3 separate regions of the Homo sapiens genome follow, and all the other regions are linked to region 1. Evidence: promoter capture Hi-C in 16 types of primary human blood cells and fetal thymus (Javierre and others, 2016). All regions are on one chromosome and are shown on one strand. Each heading gives the region's core, a stretch centred on a gene start or on the middle of the fragment in contact. The rest is flanking DNA. Distances are from core to core; before and after follow the strand shown.

Evidence for each region. The method cuts DNA at HindIII sites, captures the fragments that hold promoters and counts their contacts. A CHiCAGO score of 5 or more calls a contact.
Region 2: a fragment that was not itself captured here is called in contact with the fragment with the promoter of HEATR1 in region 1 in 3 of 17 cell types (M0 macrophages, M2 macrophages and M1 macrophages); the score reaches 8.6 in M0 macrophages.
Region 3: a contact is called between a fragment that was not itself captured here and the fragment with the promoter of HEATR1 in region 1, in 2 of 17 cell types (total B cells and megakaryocytes). The highest score is 5.8, in total B cells.

The regions. Positions count from the first base shown.
Region 1 is chr1:236,602,440-236,606,813 of GRCh38, reverse strand. It overlaps HEATR1 (HEAT repeat containing 1), which reads left to right and starts at 2,298. Exons shown (of 45, transcript NM_018072.6): 1 at 2,298-2,392; 2 at 2,687-2,860; 3 at 3,438-3,654. The coding sequence starts at 2,719. RefSeq lists an enhancer at 2,098-2,357. The HindIII fragment of the contact is 2,349 bases long and covers 2,241-4,374 here.
Region 2 is chr1:237,563,708-237,568,081 of GRCh38, reverse strand. RYR2 (ryanodine receptor 2) reads right to left here. Exons shown (of 105, transcript NM_001035.3): 28 at 1,307-1,515. Among named protein-coding and RNA genes, the nearest start is that of MIR4428, 95 kb to the right of the region's middle. The HindIII fragment of the contact is 1,510 bases long and covers 1,178-2,687 here.
Region 3 is chr1:236,066,917-236,071,290 of GRCh38, reverse strand. No RefSeq gene overlaps it. Among named protein-coding and RNA genes, the nearest start is that of NID1, 4.0 kb to the right of the region's middle. The HindIII fragment of the contact is 2,633 bases long and covers 1,309-3,941 here.

The sequences.
Region 1 (4,374 bases), core at 1,049-3,548:
TAGATGTCTTTATCACTCATCCAAAATAATCAGCCAATCAATAGGACACCCGGACAGGAATGATATAATTAAATGCAATCAGATTTTGCTGATTTTCATCTATGTAAAAACATTTTTATTTTGCCATTATAAATGTTTACTCACCAATATTGAGAGTTATAGCATATCCTAGTTAATAATGTGTTAAGTTAATTTATAACTTTTAAATATTTACACCTACAGCAGTGAGTCCATCTGTACTCTTTCTCAGGCTCCATAAGTCTTAGGGATGGGCTTTATGCCAACGTGCTGAAGCCAATATTATAGTGAGGGAATACAAGAAATAAACAGGTAAACAAACAGACAAATCAGGTCATTTCAAGTAGTGATAATGGCTATGAAGAAAATACCAGCTTGGTACATCTGTCCGTCAGATAAAAATATATAATTCAAGATTATTACATTTTTTTTAAAACCAAAGCTTTTTTTTAAAAAAAAATTACATTTATGAACATCTGACTTGTTTTCCTTTTTACTTTCCAAAGTAAAATTCGGCATGGCACTATACACCATCACAGCTGACATAGGAAGGACTGAGTCAAATCTTTGTAGCACTTTTTCAAGTTTCACTTAAATAAAGCTTTTAAAAAATATATAGGGTATTTTTTAAGCAAAAAAAGCAAATTATCTTATCAATGAAACAGACCTGGTGTTCATTTCTTTTAAAGTACCGAAAGCTGATTGCTTCTGTAAAGGTAAAACTCCTGTGACATGTTAGAAAGAAAAAAAAAATTCCTTTGAGAGATATGTTTGTAAGAATGAAATAGGTACTACTAGAATTTTCATGTTATTCTCTGCAAGGCACTCAACACCACATGAAAAGAAGATTATTAACAGTCAGTAGAAATACTAATAACTGAAGAAAATATTTGGTTGTTTTAAATGCTTTTAAAGCAAACCAACAACAAAAGATTCTGTTTGTAAATGGGAGAGAATCTGCATGAGGTATAGACAACCAGGGCCTCCAAATTTGTAGCTGTGTTTCTGACATTCTCCAGGGAAGACGGTTACAGAAAGACTTGACCCCCTGGCCCCGCAGAGCTCTTCAGAGAAATTAATGCATCCAGAAAAGACAGAGCATCAGATCTCACTCCTTCGTCTGGAAGACGTCAGTTCATCCTAGTTCTAGCGCATACCGGTGTTTTGGAAACAGATTAGCTATATTCATACATAAGGATACTCTTCCGCAACACTATCTGTAGTGAGGCCAAGACCAGTGGTTGCGGGAATCTTCGCAAACAGGCAAGAGACAATTTTTAGGGGCGATGGAAACTGTCATTTTGACTGGGGAGGTCATTACACCTATACATGCATTTGCTAAAAGTCATCAAACTCTTCCACTGACGTGGGTGTAACCATTGTTTGTAAATTATACCTCAACAGGATTCGATTAATTTATTTATTGAGACAGTCTCGCTCTGTGGAGTGCAGTGGTGCAATCTTGGCCCACTGCAACCTCCGACTCCCGGGTTCCAGCGATTCTTCTGTCTCAGCTTTCCTAGTAGCTGGGATTACAGGCGCCCGCCACCACGTCCGGCTAATTCTTTTATTTTTAGTAGAGACGGGGTTTCGCTATGTTGGCCAGGCTGGTCCCGAACTCCTGACCTCAGGTGATCAGCTCGCCTGAGCTTCCCAAAGTGCTCGGATTACAGGCCGCGCCTGACTATGATTCGTTTTGAAAGAAAAAAATATATGCCATTTACCCCTCGGGAATGGAAACATAGAGGAGTGACAAGATCTCCCCCAAGCTCTGGGGCGGTGGAGTCCAGCATTTATAGATCGGTTTGCACTAGGAGCAGAAGCTCCTTTCACGACAATCTCGGCCTCTTCCCACTTTGTAGAGTGAGTAACAAGCTCGGAGAGATGAAATAATTTGGTGGCGTTAACCCGGCCGACAGGCGCCAGCGCCAGGATTTGAACCCAAACCACGTGACTTCACAACCCATAGCTTTCAACACTACGCGGTGCTGCTGGCACCTAGTAAAGGCTGGATCACTACTGAATGAATGATTCTGGCTACGGATCCTTAAAGCCCACAGAAGGCCCATCCAGAGACCGAAAGCTTCAGACACAAGCCGCAGAGCAGACCGCTAAACCGGAGCTACAGAGGCGAAGCTCAGACTTGAGCCTGAGTCCGGCGGGCTGAGGGGCGGGCTTTCGTCTCGGGAGGCGGAGCTGTCTCGTCGCATTCCCGGCAAGCTTGAACCTCTTCACTTGCCGTAGCGCCTGCAGCAGGAAGTTGCTCTACAGCATGCCTTAGGTTTCCGGGTGAGGGTTGGGCTCCTTGGTACCATGTGGGAAGCGCTGTGAAGAGTTGTTGCCTTCCAAGATATACCCAAATTCCCAGTTCCAGGTAAGCGGCACAGAGCCGCTTGATGTGGCTGCGGATGGGGGCGGCATATCGAGGGAGGGTAAGAGTTTTCCGGATATCTGCGGAATCAGGGTTGAAGGAAAGCCTTGGCGCGGTCGCCGCTACTGTAATTAGTTGTTAACGCTGCTGCCATCGTCTTTGCATCTCCGGGGTCCACAAATCTCAGGACACCCGCGTTGTGTGTCCATGACGGTGCTGAGTGCAGAAGAGAATTGTTTGTTTACGAGGCGCCTTATAATTTCGTAGAAACTTATCAAAGTGCTTACGTTTTTTTAGCCCGTGTCATTAAAACTCCGCTGGCGTGAAAGATGACGTCCTTAGCCCAGCAGCTGCAACGACTCGCCCTCCCTCAAAGTGATGCCAGCCTCTTATCTAGAGATGAAGTTGCTTCTTTGTTATTTGACCCTAAGGAAGCGGCCACAATCGACAGGGACACCGCCTTCGCCATTGGTGAGCCATCTTTTAACTTAGAAAAGCTCTTGGAAGCGTTTGTTTTCTGGATGTTACTGTTTTTTTTTTTTCCCCTTGTTTTCTCTTCTGTCCCGTCCTCTTCCTTAGCAGTTTCTAGCATGTTGATGTATATTTTTAAGGGAAAGAGAACATAACAGTCAGGTGCTTGGTGCTTGAAATGTTTATGAGTAGAGGTATCTGGATTTCACAGATGAAGAAACAAAATTAGAGAGGTCAACTAATATGTCAAAGAGAAGAACAGCTAAAAGGGGGATGGAGGCAGTGACTGGGGTGACGGAGAAGTCCTCTCAGAGGACTGGCCTAGTTATTGTAGGGGATATCCAAAAAAAAAAAAAAAAAAGTGTTCCCTGCCACGAAGTACTTTCTGTTCTAGTAGATGAGATAGGATTTACTCTAAAAGTTGAAAACTAGAAATCAGTGTTTGGGACTGTATTATAAATTATATGTACTTAAAGAATTCAGAAACTTCTTAGGGGTAAGTAAAACTGTAAAAGAGGGGTGGGATGAATTTGCTTACGAAGAATTGTTAAATAAACTGGCCTTTTTTGAAATTTAGGATGTACTGGCCTGGAAGAGTTGCTTGGAATTGATCCTTCCTTTGAGCAGTTTGAAGCACCGTTGTTCAGTCAGCTAGCAAAAACCTTGGAGCGAAGTGTTCAGACCAAAGCAGTAAACAAACAGTTGGATGAAAACATTTCATTATTCCTTATTCACTTGTCGCCTTACTTCCTGCTTAAGCCAGCACAGAAGTGTCTGGAGTGGTTGATTCACAGGTAGCTAATAGAATTACAGAAATAACTATGGGTTAATCACTTTGGTCTTGTAAAAAATTAAGTAGTTGAGAACTTATCAAATTAAAGCTGAAAAATTAGGTATATTAAGAGATTGATACAATGTCCATTGTGTGAGATAAGCATGCTCTTCTGCCTTTAAATTCTTTTTTGTTGATAGTGAAAAGTAGAACTACTGGTGATTTTGAGTAAATGGTCTAACCTCATTAGTTTTTTTTTGAGATAGAGTCTTGCTGGGCACTCAGGCTGGAGTGCAATATTGAAATCTTGGCTCACTGCAACCTCTGCCTCCCAGGTTCAAGTGATTCTCCCACCTCAGCCTCCCAAGTAGCTGGGATTACAGGCACCTGCCATAATGCCTGGATGAGTTTTGTGTTTTTGTAGAGATGGAGTTTCACCGTGTTAGCCAGGCTGGTCTTTAACCCCTGACCTCAGGTGATCCACCCGCCTCGGCCTCCCAAAATACTGGGATTACAGGTGTGAGCCACCTCGCCCAGCCTAACCTCGTTAGTTCTGAAGAGCCCATGCTACTTTGCCATTACAGCTTGTTCCTGCACACTTGAGGCAGTGAGTACTAAGCTGCTTTCTTGGCAAAATAACAAGATGGTTGGGGAAGCAGGCAATGTTATCCTCTGAAATACCATTGCTTGAGAAAAACAATGATAGCTAATGTGTTTTTGAGCATTTATACACTAGGCCCTG
Region 2 (4,374 bases), core at 683-3,182, 960 kb before region 1:
CCACTCTGGTTCATTACATCTGATCTTCAGGAGGTATAAACCTAAAGCTGCCTTTTATCTGTTATTTTATTTTTTGAAGTTTAAAGTTTGCTAATTTTGACCGCCCCCCAACCCCCCAAAAAAGTGTTAAATTTTTCTATTTGAAATTTTTAAAAAACTGGATTCAGGAAATGTGATGTTTCAAAACTAAGTGGGTCAACTGCCCTAATTTCAAGCCTAGAAATGCTTTCCTACACAGGACATTTCACTCCAAGAAATATCCAAACGTCAAATCTCTTCATGATTGCTTATTTATTCTAATTTTATTTTTCTTGGTTAAAAAGTAGCTTTTTCCCCCTCATGTGAAAAGGAAAATAAATTCACTTAAAAAATAAAAAAAAAAGAAGACTTTAAAAAAATCTATGATTTTACCAATCAAAAGTGACTATTATTATCCTATTGTGGCTATAAGCATATATACCTTGTTGTTATTATTATTTTTTTGTTTGTTTTGAGACAAGGTCTCACTCTGTTGCCCAGGCTGGAGTGCAGTGGTGTGATCATGGCTCATTGCAGCCTCGACCTCCCGAGCTCAAGCAATCCTCTCACCTCAGCCTCGTATGTAGCTGGGACCACAAGTGCACACCACCATGCTTGGCTAATTTTAATTTTTTTTTTTTTTTTTTTGTAGAGACAGGATCTTACTTTGTTGCCCAGGCTGGTCTTGCACTCCTAGCCCCAAGTGATCCCTCCATCTCAGCCTCTCAAAGTGCTGGGATTACAGGCACCTCGCCCATATTACTGATCAAAATATTTTACACATGTAAAAGAATCTTTAAACATTTATTAGTATATAAATAACAAAATAAACACCTGACCAGCTTCCATCCAACTTAATAGAAATTACCAATAATGTTGAAAATGAAAACCGTTTGTGATTATAAACAACACTACATTAAGCATTGTAGCTATTAAATGTTCATACAAACCACTAATTATAGCTTAAAGATAAACTCCTGATACGGAATCGCTGCGTCAATGTATATGCATTTTTCCTCTACATATGTATCTTTAACATTTTGATAGACAAAGATGATTTATCTTTTTGATAACCATGGAAAAGCAATGTCTTACTTGGTGAATTTCACTGCATTCATGGGTTGTAGGGAAGGGTTTTGAGACTACGAGGACAAAAGCTTTCCTGTGAAATATTTTTCCACGTTTGTGCTGTGGGAAACACTGGTACTGTGAAGCTACCAAGAGGAACAGCAGAGGAGATGAGCCTCCAGCACGTACAGATGACTGGCACAGGACAAAGTCCACTCACCTTGAAGCCATCAAAGGCAAAGGCACGTTCATCTGAGCCAAGCTCCTGATCCGGTTGACAACCAGGACGACTCCAACCAACCCTCATGTCTCCAGCAGTGACCGTCTCAAATTCAAAATACCACCGTCCGGCCTTCACTGCATAGGTCTTCTCGGCACGGAAGATTCGGAACCTTTCCCCGGTGCCGCTGCACACTTCGGCTCTGGCTGCTGGGAAATGGACAGAGATTTCTGGTGGTCATTGGATGGGGAGGTGAAAGAGAAGGAAAGATATCATAAATAAAAGAAGGAAAGATAAATCACGACTTTAGTAATTCAACCTAGAGCGATGATGATAATGATACCTTCTTATCTTCTTTCCCATTTTACCAAGTGCTTTCTGATCTAGGATCAGCCACTGTCAGACCAGCTGGGTGAAGTGGAAAGCACCAGGGCTTGCGCTGGAGAGACTGGGGAATGAGTCTCCGTCAGCCTCATTTTCAGGAGGGAACGACCTTTCTGTAGAACAAAACCCAAGTGCCTTGGTGCTTTGGTTGTGGAGGATGAGATGGAAAGAAGTCAATAAGAAAAAAGATCCGAACTGCTCTGCATAAGAAATGAGTAGACATGTACGGGTGAGAGAGAAGAGGGAAGACGAAGCAAGGAAGAGAAGAGAAACAGAAATAAGGGAAAGTTGTAAACAGTGGAGAAAAGTAACAATAGCATCAATAGTAAAAATTTCCCTACAGGATGGTGATGGCTAAGGAACTCAAATGTGATGCAAAATTTTTCCATTCTCGCATACATCTTCACTGTGATCTGCTATACATACAAATGCTGTATTTAAAAGATCTGGGGGAAAAATAAAAAGGTCAGCATCCAACATTAGGACCAGTGTGATGCAAAAGGGGGAAAAGTATCCCTAGGAAATGAGATGCAGGTGAGATTGAGAGAGACGAGAGGGGGAAGTCTCAGAATGAGGAACCCAGAGCCAGAACGACGATGAGAAGGTAAGTCCTTCTGAAACCACAGAGGAGAGGAATGAGTGTTCATTGAATTGATATCTCAAAGAAGGTGGTCACCCAGCTAACATCTGAGTTAGATGCAGAGGAGGAAATTTCAGACTTGACCAACATCGCACAACTAAAAATGGTGGAACTTGGGAGCTGCTTCATGTTATAGCCCCTCTTCTTCCTACTTTGCCTCCAATAGCTCGCACAGAGTTACTAGTTACTGGTTAAATGCTAGTTTTCAGCCAGGTGTGGTGGCTCACAGCTGTAGTCTCAACACTTTGGAAGGCCAAGGCGGGAGGATCGCGCCCGGGCAACATAGTGGTACCCTGTCTCTACAAAGAGTTTAAAAATTCAGCCAGACATGGTAGTGCATGCCTGTAAGTCCAAGCTTCTCAAGAGGCTGATACAGAAGGATCACTTGAGCCTAGAAGGTCGAGGTTGCAGTGAGCTATGGTCGTTCTACTGCATTCCAGCCTGGGTGATAGAGTGAGATCCTGTCTCAAAACAAAACAAACAAACAAAGAGAAAGAAAGAGAGAGAGAGAAAGAAAGAAAGACAAAAGAAAGAAAGAAAGAAAGAAAGAAAGAAAGAAAGAAAGAAAGAAAGAAAGAAAGAAAGAAAGAAAGAGAAAGAAAGAAAGAAAAAGAAAGAAAGAAAGAAAGAAAGAAAAAGAAAGAAAGAAAAGAAAAGAGAAGAAGGAAGTTCCTATTTGTTTCTCCTTAAGATTTGGGAAAGACTTTATGCATAATAAAAATTTAATAACAGTTCAATCAATGACTTGGTATGATCAAATTAGAACTATAAAAATAATCTATATAAGCACTAAAGGTTGCCAATAAACATACAGCTAGGTCATATGTAACAATTTAAAATGAGATGAAGTAAAGCAGTGGAGACACCATGGCTGTAGCATGAGATGGCTCCCTATCACATGGGCTTAATTAATGAAACGATCAATAACTGCTTTTTTGATAATGGTGGTAGTGCTTACTGAATGTAGAACTAACTGAATCTGCTGGCTAACCCTTCAGAAACTAGCTTAAGTCTCTGAATCAGAGAAACATTTCTATGGTTAAGGGTAAATTCTCATGCCTATTACTTGGTAAGTAAATATATTTTGAAAAATAGGATCGTAAACGTTGTTTTGAGAGAAAAAAATTCTATCAGATTTTATGATATTTAAAGGTAGTTTGTGCTATTAAGAAACTAGTTCTTGGCGGGTCGCGGTGGCTCACACCTGTTATCCCAACACTGTGGGAGGCTGAGGCAGGCAAATCACTTGAGGTCAGGAATTCGAGACCAGTCTGGCCAACATGGTGAAATCCCATCTCTACAAAAAATACAAAAATCATCAGGGCCTGGTGGCATATGCCTGTAATCCCAGCTACTTGGGAGGCTGAGCAGGAGAACTGCTTGAGCCCGGGAAGCAGAGGATGCAGTGAGCCGATACCATGCCACTACACTCTAGCCTGGGCAACAGAGCAAGACTCTGTGTTTAAAAAAAGAAAGAAAGAAAGAAACTCGTTCTCAGTGCTGCAATACTAAACAAACAGGAAAGTCAAATTTTTACTCAGAGTTAGTATTTCCTCAAAAAACAGATTACCGATAAATTGTTTCCTTAAAACATGCCTGTAATCTTCCCTAAATGAATCTAAGAGATAAATATGAGCTATAAATTACACAAAAATTTGGAGATTATTTTCAGGGAAGAAAAAATGATCAGGTAGTTATCCTTATTTTTAATTATGTTGATATTTGCAAATAAAATATTACATTACATTCTAGTATGCATTAATAGATGTAACTCCTAATTTTCTAAATATAGAATTAGTATATACTATAGTCATTATATACCATGAAAACTATACTACAGTTTTTTTGGAAAACTAAACTACTGAAAAATACCAGGTTCTCTTTTCTGTGTTTGGTTTCTAATATATCAAGACTTCACAAATATGTATAGTGCACTCAAGTAATGCAAACTAATTTTAATATTAGCACAAATCAAATATTTTAGAAGGCAAATTCGGTATAAAAATGTAATAATTTCCCCAAAAGCCCCCTACACAATTCTCTT
Region 3 (4,374 bases), core at 1,376-3,875, 540 kb after region 1:
GATATTATGTATGTGTAGTTTACCAAATAAAATTCTTTTTCAGTAACTGAAGAGAGAAAAATATTTGCAACCATTACAATAACAATTGATTCTAGTAAGAGTCATTAATGGGGTTAAAATTAGAGGGTAAAAGTTTAATGAAAGAGAATATTTATGTAGTTTCCAATTATCTGTTTCCAATATATTTATTAATTAGAAAAGAAAACCTAGTAATTTTACAGTGGAGAAATTAGGAGGTATAAATGTACCAGGTGATCAAAGTAAACACTATCAGCATTAGGACAAATGGACATGTTCCTCCTGATATGTTGCACTAGGAAGGACACAATATCACTTCTCTGTTACTGCTGCCAAAATTTATGCAAAATCTGATCTAATTATGAAGGAAACACCAGACAAACCCAAACTGAGGGACAGCCTACAAAATAACTGGTCTGTCCTCTTAAAAAATGTCAAGGGCCAGGCTCAATGGCTTGTCCCTGTAGTCCAGCTACTAGAGAGGCTATGGTGAGAGGATCATTTGAGTCCAGGAGTTTGAGGCTATAGCATGCTGTGATCACATCTGTGAATAGCCACTGCACTCCAGCCTCGGCATAGCTAGATCTCATCTCTAAAAAAAAAGTTAAGGTCATGAAAGATCAGGAATGACTGAGGAACTCTTTCAAGTTGAAGAAGACTGAAAGTGCATGACAACTGAATGCAGTTTGTAATCTGGTATTTTCTTTTGCTATTAAAAGACATTATATTGACATCTGGTGAACTCTGAATAAGAGCTGTCAATTAGATTATAGTATGATATCAATGTTAATTTCCTTATTTTGGCAATTGTGTTATGGCTAGGTGAGAGAATGTTCTAGTTTTAAAGAAGCATATACTTAAGCATTCAGAGGTAAAGAGGTATCATGTTTGCAACTTACCCTCAATGGTCCAGATAAAAATTTATGTATATATATATGTATCGATGTGTCTGTGTGTGTGTGCATGCATGTGTGAGTGTGTGGAGAGAGAGACAGACAGAGAGAGAGAAAGACAGAGAGAAAGCAAACATGGCAAAATGTTAATATTAAGGAAAATCTGAGTATATGGGATATGGGAATATAAGGGTATATGGAATCGTTTTGTATTATTTTTGCAATTTTTATGTAAGGTTGAAAATTACATAAATCAAGATTAAAAATTAAAATAACAACAAAAGGCAAGTGGAACCCCAGCAGTGAATGCTGGAGGTCTGATGATAATGAACCAGGAAAACGTTCATGGGAAAACAGGATGTAGAACTATAGGAATTAAACTTTACCCTGAAAAGCTTGGCATCTTCCCAAACATAGGTGGACATAATTGTGTTTTCCCAAGGTACTTTTTATCCTAATCGCCTTTGAAAACAGAATAAAGTGAACACCAAATCCTGCTTCACTCTCATCCTTTGTCAGAGTGTTTTTTTGTTTTGTTTTGTTTTGTTTTGTTTTTTGAGACAGAGTCTCGCTCTGTCGCCCAGGTTGGAGTTCAGTGGCGCGATCTAGGCTCACTGCAAGCTCCGCCTCCCGGGTTCATGCCATTCTCCTGCCTCAGCCTCCCGAGTAGCTGGGACTACAGGCGCCCGCCACCACGCCTGGCTAATTTTTTGTATTTTTTTAGTAGAGGCGGGGTTTCACCGTGTTAGCCAGGATGATCTCGATCACATGACCTCGTGATCCGCCCGCCTCGGCCTCCCAAAGTGCTGGGATTACAGGCTTGAGCCACCGCCCCCGGCCAAGGGTGTCATTTTTATCTGAGATCACAATTGAGTGTGGGTTGTTTAAAATACTCATGAATTGGCCGGGCTCGGTGGCTCACGACTGTAATTGCAGCACTTTGGGAGGCCGAGGTGGGCGGATCACGAGGTCAGGATATCAAGACCATCCTGGCTAACATGGTGAAACCCCGTCTCTACTAAAAATACAAAAAAAAAAAAAAAAAAAAAAAAAAAAAATTGGCCGGGCGTGGTGGCGGGCGCCTGTAGTCCCAGCTACTCGGTAGGCTGAGGCAGGAGAATGGCGTGAACCCAGGAGGCGGAGTTTGCAGTGAGCCGAGATCGCGCCAGTGCACTCCACGCTGGGCAACAGAGCGAGACTCCGTCTCAAATAAAATTAAAAAAAAAATTCATGAATTAGGCGAATTCCCTGGAATTGGAACACTAATACATTCACATCTATATGACATCTGGAAAATAAAAGAAAGCTCCATGGCCATACATGGTCAGTTACCAATCCTCACAGGAGAGTGAGATTAGAACAAATGCCTCCTTCAGAGCAATAGCCAATTGAGCTATTTTCCCACTCAGCTGCCTGGACTTTTGTCTGAATCGTCAGAGAGAAGAGTTACCTTGGGGCCGGGTGTGGTGGCTCACAACTGTAATCCCAGCACTTTGGGAGGCTGAGGCAGGAGGATCACCTGAGGTCAGGACTTCGAGACCAGCCTGGCCAACATGATGAAATCCCATCTCTACTAGAAATACAAAAATTAGTCGGGCGTGGTGGCATGCCTGTAATCCCAGCTACTCAGGAGACTGAGGCAGGAGAATCACCTGAAACTGGGAGGTGGAGGTGGCAGTGAGCCGAGATCACGCCACCGCACTCCAGCCTGGGTGACTGAGGGAGACTCCATCTCAAAAATCAAACACACAAAAAAAGAAAAGTTACCGTGGCTTCTTATAGACACACAGCCTGAGACCTGCTTCTTAAATTTTGTGTTTCTGCCTCATCAGGATGACAGCCATCAAGAAAAGAGTATAAATCTCAAAAGAGCAAGGTTTCATTTTTTTTTAAAGCTGGTATATTACAGAATTATGGGTACCATTGGTACTGCAGATATCAGATGATTCTTAAACATATCAGTGAGTTCTTAAATGGTTAAGAACTGTGCACATTATTAATGTGTATGCAGCATTGGGCTAGGCTCTGCGAAGTCAGGAAAACAAATAAAGCACATGGGCCTTGCCCCCAATGAGCTCTTATCCCCGAAAAACATACGAAATGACTAGAGAAAAAGACCGAATTATTATATACACTTAGAAAATGTCCAGAGCACAATATAAAAGTAAGTATTCGATGATGAATGTGTTTGGAACTACTAATTCTAAAGGAGTGACAGGGACACACTGTCCTAGTAGGAGACACAGCATCAATATTACGTCCTACAAGGACTGGGCAATGTGAGGCGAGTGCAGGGCTATAAATAGTAAATGACAGAGAATTTACCGTATATACTGGACTTACTCAGGCCAAGAGATACTGATGAAATAAAGGAGCACAAGCATGCACAGATAGATCGTGAGCATTATGTATAAACAATGGAGCAAATAGATCTTGTGGGTGGAAATAAAGGGAGAAACCTTTCCTTCCATAGATGGGCAGGATGGCGCGGCAGAAAGAATAATAGCTTTGGTGTCGGACAAACTGGATTCAAATCCTAGCTCTTTCACTACCTGTGTAAAACTGGGCAAGTTATCTAATCATTGCAAACCTTGTTTTCACTACATAGGGCTACTAGCTTGTGCAGTTATTAGTATTAAATTGAATGCTACATTAAGCATCTAGCAGAAGCAGCATTCAACAAGCGATATCTCTTGTTGGTTTGTGTATTTCTTAAAGCATCGCACTGTTATTGTTGTGTTTGTCTCCCTGATAGATTGTGAGCTTCTCAAAGAAAGGACTGTGCCTTAACGGTCTTGGCATTTTGAATTTCTAGTATAGAATCTGGCTCATGGTAGATTCTCAGTAAATATTGACATAATAAGAATCACGAAAACTGTACATTTAGGTAACAACGATGGTTTGATATTAACGGAATACTTACTTTGTGCCCAGCTAGGAGCATTTAATGAATCACCTTATCTAATCCTCACGACAATCCTTCGATTTTAACTATGAACATCCCATACAAGTGACAAGGATATTGAAGCTTAGAAACCTGCCCGTGCTTATACAGCCAGTAAATGGAGAGCCTTGACCTCAGCCAGGTTGGATTCAGGCTGTGCTGAACCAGCAAAGTAGAGAACTGCTCTCCTCCTGTAGTTGCTGAGGAAAGTCCCATGGATGGACCAATAGGAGTTTCAGAAGCTGCCTGAGTACCAAAAAGGGAGAGAATTCGTGAGAAGGGTAAGAGCATTCCAGGCACAGACTACAGCTTCAGAGACAGCTCTGATGTGTGACAGAGGCTGGGGTGGGGTTTTTTGAAGGAGGAGTGTTGAAGGCACAGGCCAAAAAAGGCCTACTGAGCTTGGGGTTTCCCTCAACCACAGGGCATGGGGAAGTCGTGGGGCCCGTGTCACGTGCGGGTGAAGATAGAGAAGAATCTCCATACAGAGATCCTGTAGCAGCTGAAACAGGCAGTGCT